Regions from separate parts of the Homo sapiens genome. Here region 1 is linked to region 2. The links are contacts of gene promoters, found by promoter capture Hi-C in blood cells and fetal thymus (Javierre and others, 2016). All regions are on one chromosome and are shown on one strand. The core of a region is centred on a gene start or on the middle of the fragment in contact, and the rest is flanking DNA. Distances in the headings are between cores, read along the strand shown.

Region 1 (4,340 bases), core at 11-2,510, 1.1 Mb after region 2:
GCCCCAACTGGGGCGACTACAGGTCCCGACGCTCAAGGTTGCCAAAAGCCCTTTTATCCTAAAGTTGAAAGGTTTTGCGATAGACGCGGAGAGATGCATGCCGGGACTTGTAGTCCCGAGTCGTCATAGTCGAGCTCTTCCGGTCACTTTTAGTGGGCGGCAGGGAAGGTCAAGGTGAGGCTGGTGGCTTAACCCTCCAGGGGGAAGTCTCTAAAGTGCCTTGGTAGGCGCTGGATGCTTCAGATTCACTAAATTTCTTCCCCCGGAATTCCACATCCTGTGTTCCTTATCTTCTCATTCTCCTTAGTTTCATCACTTGTAACATGGAGTTGGTATTGTCAGTTAGTTCCCTGAGCAGCAATTGTTAGTTGGTAACAGCTCCGTCTCCTTGTTCTTTCAGGCCTCGTGGTGATAAAGCTTCTAGCTGTTGCTAGTCCGTGGGTGCTTTAAAGTCTTGAGGGTTTTCTTTTCTTTCTTTCTTTTTTTTAATTTAGTAAAGATGAGGTCTCCCTATGTTGCCCAGGCTGGTCTCAAACTCCTGGGCTCAAGTGATCCTCTCGCCTCGCCCTCCCAAAGTGCTGGGATTACAGGCGTGAGCCACCGCACCCGGCCGTGATTAAGGATGGCACTGCATAGATAACCTCTGGTCAGGTTCCTATCAGGCCATCCTCTCAAGTTATGAATTCAAAAGCACAGAGCCGGCTGGGCGTGGTGGCTCACACCTGTAATCCCAGCACTTTGGGAGGCCGAGGCAGGTGGATCACGAGGTCAGGAGTTTGCGACCAGCCTGACCCACATGGTGAAACCCCATCTCTACTAAAAATACAAAAATTAGGTAGGTGTGGTGGCGTACTCCTGTAATCCCAGCTACTCAGGAGGCTGAGGTGGGAGAATTGCTTGAACCCAGGAGGCGAAGGTTGCAGTGAGCCGATATCGTGCCATTGCACTCCAGCCTGGGCGACAGAGCGAGACTCCGTCTCAAAAAAAAAAAAAAAAAACCCAGAGCCATCTGAGATTATCCCTGTGAGAAAATGGATCCTTCACCAGGAAAGTGATGGCAAATACTTGTGGTCACATCAGCCCTTCCACATCACACCTACTTTCAGCTGTTTTCTGACAGATTAATGACGCTTTAAAAAGAAAGTCAAGTGCAGTTTTCCAGCTCAAATAGTTTACACTGGAGGAGTTAACTCCTTGAGTTATTTACTTTTTGCGAACTACATAGCTGAAGGCACATAACTTTTTTTTTGAGACAGAGTCTCCATCTGTCACCCAGGCTGAAGTGCAGTGGCACCATCTCAGCTCACTGCAACCTCTGCCTCCTGGGTTCAAGTGATTCTCCTGCCTCAGCCTCCTGAGTAGCTGGGATTACAGGCATGCGTCACCATGCCCGGTTAATTTTTGTATTTTTAGTAGAGGCAGAGTTTCACTATGTTGGCCGTGTTAGTTTCAAACCCCTGACCTCAAGTGATCCGCCTGCCTCAGCCTCCCAAAGTGCTGGGATTACAGGCATGAGCCATTGCACCCAGTCAGGCACATAACTTTTTATGTCTTCATTTTATGTAAAACTTTTTCTTTTGTCTTTTTTTTTTTTTTTTTTTTGAGATGGAGTCTCACTCTGTGGCCAGGCTGGAGCGCAGTGGTGCGATCCTGGCTCACTGTAACCTCTGGCTCCTCGGTTCAAGCGATTCTCCTACCTCAGCCTCCTGAGTAGCTGGGACTACAGGCGCACACCACCACGCCCAGCTAGTTTTTGTATTTTTAGTAGAGACGGGGTTTCACCATGTTGGCCAGGATGGTTTTGATCTATTGACCTCATGATCCGCCTGCCTTGGCCTCCCAAAGTGTTGGGATTACAGGTGTGAGCCACCATGCAGGCCCTCTTTTTCTTTTATACTTGATTTTACCTCCCAGCATTATGAGTTGCTATAAGAAATATTTTAATAAATTAGAGTCCATGAGTCTTAACTCACTCAATATTAACCCTGATTTTTTTAGATGAGGAAACAGGCCTATTGAAAAGGCAGATACTTGACCAGGGTCACATAACAAGTGAAAAACAGAGAATAGAGCTGGAGTCTTCTGGCTTTAAAACTGTATTTCTCAAGCTTTTCTTTTTTAACCCAAGACTCTTTTCGATAAACATAAAAATCTCACTTCTCGGCCAGGCGCAGTTTCTCACGCCTGTAATCCCAGCACTTTGGGAGGCCAAGGCAGGTGGATCACCTGAGGTCAGGAGTTCCAGACTGGCCTGGCCAACATGGTGAAACCCCGTCTCTACTAAAAATACAAAAATTAGCCGGGTGTGGTGGCGCACGCCTGTGATCCCAGCTACTCGGGAGGCTAAGGCAGGAGAATCGCTTGAACCTGGGAGGCAGAGGTTGCAGTGAGCTGAGATCGTGACAATGCACTCCAGCCTGGGTGACAAAGCAAGTCTCCATCTCAACAACAACAACAAAAAATCTCGCTTCTCCTCTCCTCCACCAGAAATTCTGGCACATCTTCTCAGAGAGTCATCATTCTTTTGGGAATCTTTGTATCCTCTGAATAAAGACTTTTTTTTTCATGGCCAAACCCTGCTCCTTCATATCAGCAGACATTGATTATCCCTGGAAGGATATAAATATAAATATTGAGGAACTCAGTATTTTAAAAGATAAGGACCTGCATCTGTAGGTGGTGCGAACTCAAGATAATATTAACACATCGTATTGAACTTTATAACTTACAAAGGGTTTTCACATCCACTTTCTCATTTGATTATTACAACAACCAAATGATATATTGTTATTATCAGCATTCCAGTTTTGAAGCTGAGAAAATCAAGACACAGAGAGTTTAAGTGACTTGCCCAAGGTCACAGCAGAACCCAGACTTAAATCCAAATCACCATATGGGTTTCCATTACTTCTCTATATCTTATTCCAAAAGCTGATGAGATTTTAGGGGTCTGCAGAATCTCTACCCCCTACCCAGGAACATCTCACATCAAGGAATAAAAATCTGCCCTCCTATTAAGGAAGTGACCCACCATCTTTCCTTTACTTAAGAATTACTTTGGTTGTAGCCGGGCGCGGTGGCTCAGGCCTGTAGTCCCAGCACTTTGGAGGCTGAGGCTGGCGGATCACGAGGTCAGGAGTTCAAGACCAGCCTGGCCAACCTGGTGAACCCCGTCTCTAAAAATACAAAAATTAGCTGGGCACAGTGATGTGTGCCTGTAGTCCCAGCTACTCAGGAAGCTGAGGCAGGAAAATCGCTTGAACCTGGGAAGCGGAGGTTGCAGTGAGCCGAGATCATGCCACTGCACTCCAGCCTGGGCAGCAAAGTGAGACTCTGGCTCAAAAAAAAAAAAAAAAAAAGAATTACTTTGGTTGTTTGTTAAAATACATTAGGCCCCTCTCCTAAAGATTTTGACAAAATAGTCTGGAGGAGGGCTCAGGAATCTGTTTTTATTGCTGGATGCTAGAATCAGGAGATGCTAAGATTTATTTGCAGAAATGATATGTTTCCACTGTGCTGATAGAAGTCTGGACCTTTTTTTCTCAAGGTCTCTTTTAGGCTCCTTCCAACTGCTACTACTTTCTTCCTCAGGGAGTCACTGCCCAACCTTGGTATTGTAGGGTGACCAAGAGGACTACAGCGAGGCGCTCATCATTTTCCTGGGCCTGCCCTTGGGGGCTGGAGGTAACCTTAGATAGCATGAGATCCCCCTTGTCCTCAATTAGACTGCCTCTTGTTCCTCATCCTGATGTTCAGGGAGATGGTCAGCAGATGGTGCTAACTTACCACCCTTCCCTCTGAATCCTTTGGGGGCATTCTTAAAATTAATCCAGTGGAACTTTCAGTGTATCAAATCTTGAAGACAGTGCTAGGGAATTCTTGTTTGTATTTACTAAAGGGCACAGACGTCAGGAGTAGAAGGACTGGTGTGTGAATCCCAGCTGAGTTCCTTAACAGCCATGTGACCTCTGGTAAGTAAGTTAATTCCATAAGCCTGTTTTCCACTATAAATTGGGGTGCTCTTGACCTCCTAGAATTAATGTGAGGAATAAATGATCCCTTGGCACTTGCTATAGTGAGTAGGTGCTTACTAAGTAATAAAGATATTTTCCTGTGCAATGTTGTGAATTATGGATTTCCCTTTATGCCTTTAAAAATTCCTTTAAATAAAAAAATCAAAAAATATAAACAATGAGTTGCATACAAAATAAATAAAAAAATAAAAATAAAAAATTACTTTTTCGGTCATGCTTCTTAGCCAGCTAGTTGAGGATCTTACCCTATTCACAGTACTTTAGCATTGTGAGGAACTTGCTTGATTTCAAATGAAACACTTAAAA
Region 2 (4,789 bases), core at 312-2,811:
TCCTATCTTCTTACCTCCATGCTTTTAAGTTTCCTCTTAGTATGCCCTCTGACCCTCTACATATCTAGATCCTAATTATTCTTTGAGGCCCAACTCAAGTGGCTCCTTCTCTTTATTTCAAAGTCTTTCTAGATCCCCTCAGTCAGAGACTAGTATCTCCCTTTCTCTGAATTTCTGTATCTCTTATTCAGTCTACAGCCTTCTATTACATACTCTATTTTTGCATATATGGGTTTCCTTCAATATCAGTTTGAAGACTAGAGTCACTCTCTTCCAAAGTTGTATCTCCAGTGCCCTACCATCCCTAGATTATGTGGACAGAGATCTGGCAGGACAGGGATGTGGTCTGCTTTGTGGAGATCATTTTACTCACAATTATCATCTGCCTGGAGGCTGATTAGGTAAGTCCTGCCTCTAGTAAGAGAGGTCAACCAAATTAGCTCCCAGAGTATTTCCTAACCCTGGCTTCCTTCTACTGGCCTATAATCCTTACTTGAATTATATTTGTATTCTATGGTTAGATCTCTCAATATTATATCCAGTCTTTTCGGTTTTCAAAAACAATACAACATAATTAAAAAAACAAACAAACAAAAAGTTGTAAGGCAATTGTGAAGTGGTGGAAAGTGCATTACGGTTAGAACCAGTAGGCACAGCCTTTGCTTTTTGGCTCTGTTCCTTACTGGCAGTGTGACCTCCAGGTAGTTCTTTAACCTTTGTTTCCTCATTTGTACAATAAAGATGGCCCCAAGGGTTAAACAGAAAATATTTAATATGCAACATGGAAGAGTGTGTATGTGTGTGTGTGCGTTATGTGTGTGTACACAAGGCCTTGCTACAAGAAGCCAATCTCGTTCTCTTCTTTCGGGGACCTCTGCTTACTGACTTTGCCGGATAGAGTGGCTGTGACCTTGGGCCAGTCCCCAACTCGACTGTCACCCACAAGCGCCCTCAGCGGTAGCAAGAGTGCGTGTCCAGGAGCTAGAGAACGAGGCTCTAGTAGTGCAATCAGGCCAGCTTTGCTTCCTAACCAGGCACCCTAGACTTGTGGTCTCCCCACAAGTCTTGGAATGGTTACTAAGACGTAGGCCACACGTGGAGAATGAAGCTTTTAAGACCTCTGGGTTCGGCTTGCCCCAGGTTTACGAAGAGCCCAGTTCCCAGAAAGACCCACACCCCCCACGTGACTTAGGACCCCGAAGAAAGCGCCTGCTACGCCCCGGACAAGATCTGGCCAAAAACAAACAAACAAACAAACAAAAAAAAAGGTCTCCCCTCCCAGCCCTCAGGTGAGGCCATCATCCCCGCACCCCTCAGCTCCGGCCTGCACCTATAACGCCAAATGCTGTGCTGGGTAAAATTAATTACCATAAACTTCTAGCGCTTTCTCTTCCATGATCCGGGGCTGCCGGGCAGCTCCCGGCTCAGAGAGGCCGGAGAGCCACAGGACTCTGCTCAGCGTCCAGGAGAGCAGCCCGGACACCCGCTGCATCTTCACGCTCAGCCATCCCTGGCGACTGTCCCAATCGCGCCACCGTCTCTCAGCAGCCTCGGGATTGATCAACTTCCTGGTCTTCAAATGGGCCGAGACAAGCCTAAAGGTTCAGGAGAGCAGAGAAAAGGCGGGGCCAGACGGAGTAGCTCGAAGGACCTAGGGAAGGGGCCTCAAGGACTACAAGTTCCAGCGTGCTTTGCTCGATTTCGGCGGGACAAAAACAATCTTCGCGGCTCGTCAGCACATTGCATGCTGGGATGCGTGAGCTATTTTCTTCGGAAGGCAGCGAATTGTATTCTGGGACTTGTAGTGTCCGCCTGGTAGAAGTGGATGTAACGGTCTGTTAACCGCGACTGACTCACTCAGTATCCGTGATAAGTTAAAGATGAATCCTGAAGGGGTAGGGGAAAGGAGATCTTGAGTTCTCCAGCACGGAGACTCTTTACAATTATTTCTCCGCGGGATCCGCTGACAGCCAACGTCTTTCTTACTTCCTGATCGGACAGGAAGTAGGTTTCAGTTGCTGTGAAAAGGGATGTCATGGGAAGCCAGTGAGGTAGTCAGGTATGGCATGGGGAGGGCTTTTTGGCTTTCTCGTCTCCTAAGGGACTCAGTCCAGCACAGCTTCCCACCTTTGAACGAATATTTCTGCTAATGGCCTCCAAAGACAACTTAGAACATAAGTTTTCCCGTGTCTAATGTGTACAGTGGTGACATAATGGAGATCGCCATCCTTAAAAGTGTATCTTGGCCGGGCGCGATGGCTCACGCCTATAATCCCAGCACTTTGGGAGGCCGAGGCGGGCGGATCACCTGAGGTCAGGAGTTCGAGACCAGCCTGGCCAACATGGGCAAACCCCGTCTCTACTAAAAAATACAAAAATTAGCTGGGCGTGGTGGCAGGGGCCTTAATCCCAGCTACTTGGGAGGCAGAGGCAGGAGAATCGTTTGAACTCAGGAGGCAGAGGTTGCAGTGAACCAAGATCGAGCCATTGCACTCAAGCCTGGGGGAGAAGAGCGAGACTTCCCTCAAAAAAAAAAAAAAAAAAAAAAGTGTATCTTAAGCCCTCTGGTGTTCGTGGGTGTGATGGATGCCAGTAACAAAATCGATTTTATTTTATCCATCCATCCCTCCGATCAAATTTGTAGGTACTAATTTGCCATAGGTGATCCATAGGCATGGAAGATACAAAGATAAAACGCTGCCCCCGCCTTCAAACAGCTCACATGACCTGTGAGGGAGTCCATCCCTGAATTTGCAGTTACAACCAAACTAACTAAACCTCTTGTCAAAGTTGGTGACAAATGCCATTTCTATTGAGAAGATAGGATTATCTTGCAGAATTGTCCCATGCTAACATGCCCATTTATCTTTAAACTCCAGTCTTGTTTGTCTAGTTAATGTAGGCCTTAGGATCACCAGACAATGAATTGCTTAGGTCCCAAGGAAATTTTGGTCAGGGTTCAATAATTTCCCTGCCGTCTATTCCACTCCACTTACTCCACAGCAATTGAGAGGATAATCCTAACATTTTTCCAGCCAAATCTAGGACACTGAGGCCTCACTTCATCTGTGAGGCCTCCCTACTTCTCCAAGCAGAATTGATTATCTCTTTCCCTGTGCTCCCACAGGGCACCATAGCATTGAACATGTCGAACTGTCGATTAAATACCTGATTTCTGTATCTGAAACTCACAGCAAGGTGCCAGGCATACAGTAGATGCTCAGTATCTGTATTTCTTAATGAATTAACTGAATGTTGCTCAAGGAATAAGTGGTGAAGCTTTCTTCTAGTCTTGTTCAGATACCTCAATCGAAATATTTATTGACTCTCTGTGAGGGCATTGTGCTTGGCATGGGTAGATGGCATGTAGAGGTTTTCAAACATTTTAGTGACACTCCTTCATTCAGACGAACTCTTAGAAGCCTGTTGGATAAAGCTATCCAGAGCACAAAGGGCCCTAGAAACCTGAGCAGCCCCTAACTCCTACTTTTCTGCCCCTTTGGCCCCACTCGTTAATATCTCAGCATCGCGAACCAGGCCTCGGATTTGCTGCGCAGCCTCAGCTGGCCGGGTGCCGCCCCGCCCCCAGCGCCTAAGCCCCGCCCCTAGGTCTCCGCCCCTCGGATCCCACGGGGTCCCTTGCGGCCCTCCCACTCCTCGCACCGTTGGATCGCTTTGCTCACGGCGCTATCTCTCGATAAAGTTGTTGTTGCGGCTTCCGCCGCGGGTGGAAGAAGATGGCGTCGGGTGGTGGTGGCTGTAGCGCTTCGGAGAGACTGCCTCCGCCCTTCCCCGGCCTGGAGCCGGAGTCCGAGGGGGCGGCCGGGGGATCAGAACCCGAGGCTGGGGACAGCGACACCGAGGGGGAGGACATTTTCACCGGCGCCGCGGTGGTCGTGAGTTTGCACCCCTCGGGGTAGCAGGCGGGAGGGCACCCCGAAAGGGAAGAGAGGCTAAGCGAGAATCGGGGAGGTTGGGCAGAGTGGGCCCGGTGAGACCTTGCCTCGGTGTCAGCAGTCCGGGCCCCGGGGACCCTGGATGTGCTCGAAGCGGTAGAGCTTGGCTTCCCGGCCCCCAGGCGGGAAGAGTAAAGAATGAGGGTTGTGGTGCCTTCGTCGGCTAGCTCCCTAACAGCCGAGAACCGCCGACGCCGTCCTTTGACCCTGCAGTGTGGTGACACTCCACGGATCCACGGGGTTATTTTGCAGGTCGTGTCCTGCCAAGGCAGATTCAGTAGGACGGAATAAGCGAATGGGATGCAGACCTTTCCCCCGTCTTACTGCTTCTAAGATGAATAGCGTTATGTGGACTAGCCTGGGGTGGTGACCCGCCCACCAGTTCTTTCTTTAGCCCAGCATTTACCGATAATAACCAAAGGCCCTTTCTGGATCTTAGTTTACAAAAGTTATGTTGATTCTTCTGATCTCTAGGAAAATCAGGCCAGAGGCTGGTGGACAGAAGGCACTGCCAGATAAATCACTACATAGATCAGAAAGCTTTCTCCTTTTTAAAGGGATGTGTTCAAGTGCCCACGTACCTCACTGGGAGCAAATCTGAAATGTGATGAGGAAATGGTGTTTCCCGTAATGTTACCGGTAGGAGGCCCTTGAGTGTAGGTTGTCGAGGTTCTTGGCATTTTGAACAAATAATTGGACAAAACGCACAAAATAACAAAGGAATGAAACACAAACGAAGCAGCGAAAGCAGGAATTTATTAAAGCGAGAAAGCACCCCACAGGGTGTGAGTGGGCCGGAGCAAGGGGCTCAAGAGCCCACTTACAAAGTTTTC

What was found. Contacts are between HindIII fragments. The CHiCAGO score rates a contact against its expected background, and 5 or more counts as called.
Region 1: a contact is called between a fragment that was not itself captured here and the fragment with the promoter of CIAO2A in region 2, in 1 of 17 cell types (fetal thymus). The highest score is 5.3, in fetal thymus.

Annotation. Positions count from the first base shown.
Region 1 is chr15:65,185,559-65,189,898 of GRCh38, forward strand. LOC124903509 (a long non-coding RNA gene) reads left to right here and starts at 3,437. Exons shown (of 2, transcript XR_007064683.1): 1 at 3,437-3,684; 2 at 3,899-4,189. RefSeq lists an enhancer at 1-301 and a silencer at 1-32. The HindIII fragment of the contact is 1,691 bases long and covers 416-2,106 here.
Region 2 is chr15:64,092,277-64,097,065 of GRCh38, forward strand. It overlaps CIAO2A (cytosolic iron-sulfur assembly component 2A), which reads right to left and starts at 1,562. Exons shown (of 5, transcript NM_032231.7): 1 at 1,369-1,562. The coding sequence starts at 1,492. SNX1 (sorting nexin 1) reads left to right here and starts at 3,706. Exons shown (of 15, transcript NM_003099.5): 1 at 3,706-3,896. The coding sequence starts at 3,738. RefSeq lists enhancers at 637-1,199, 835-884, 1,245-1,974, 3,690-3,809, 3,950-4,029. The HindIII fragment of the contact is 2,171 bases long and covers 1,107-3,277 here.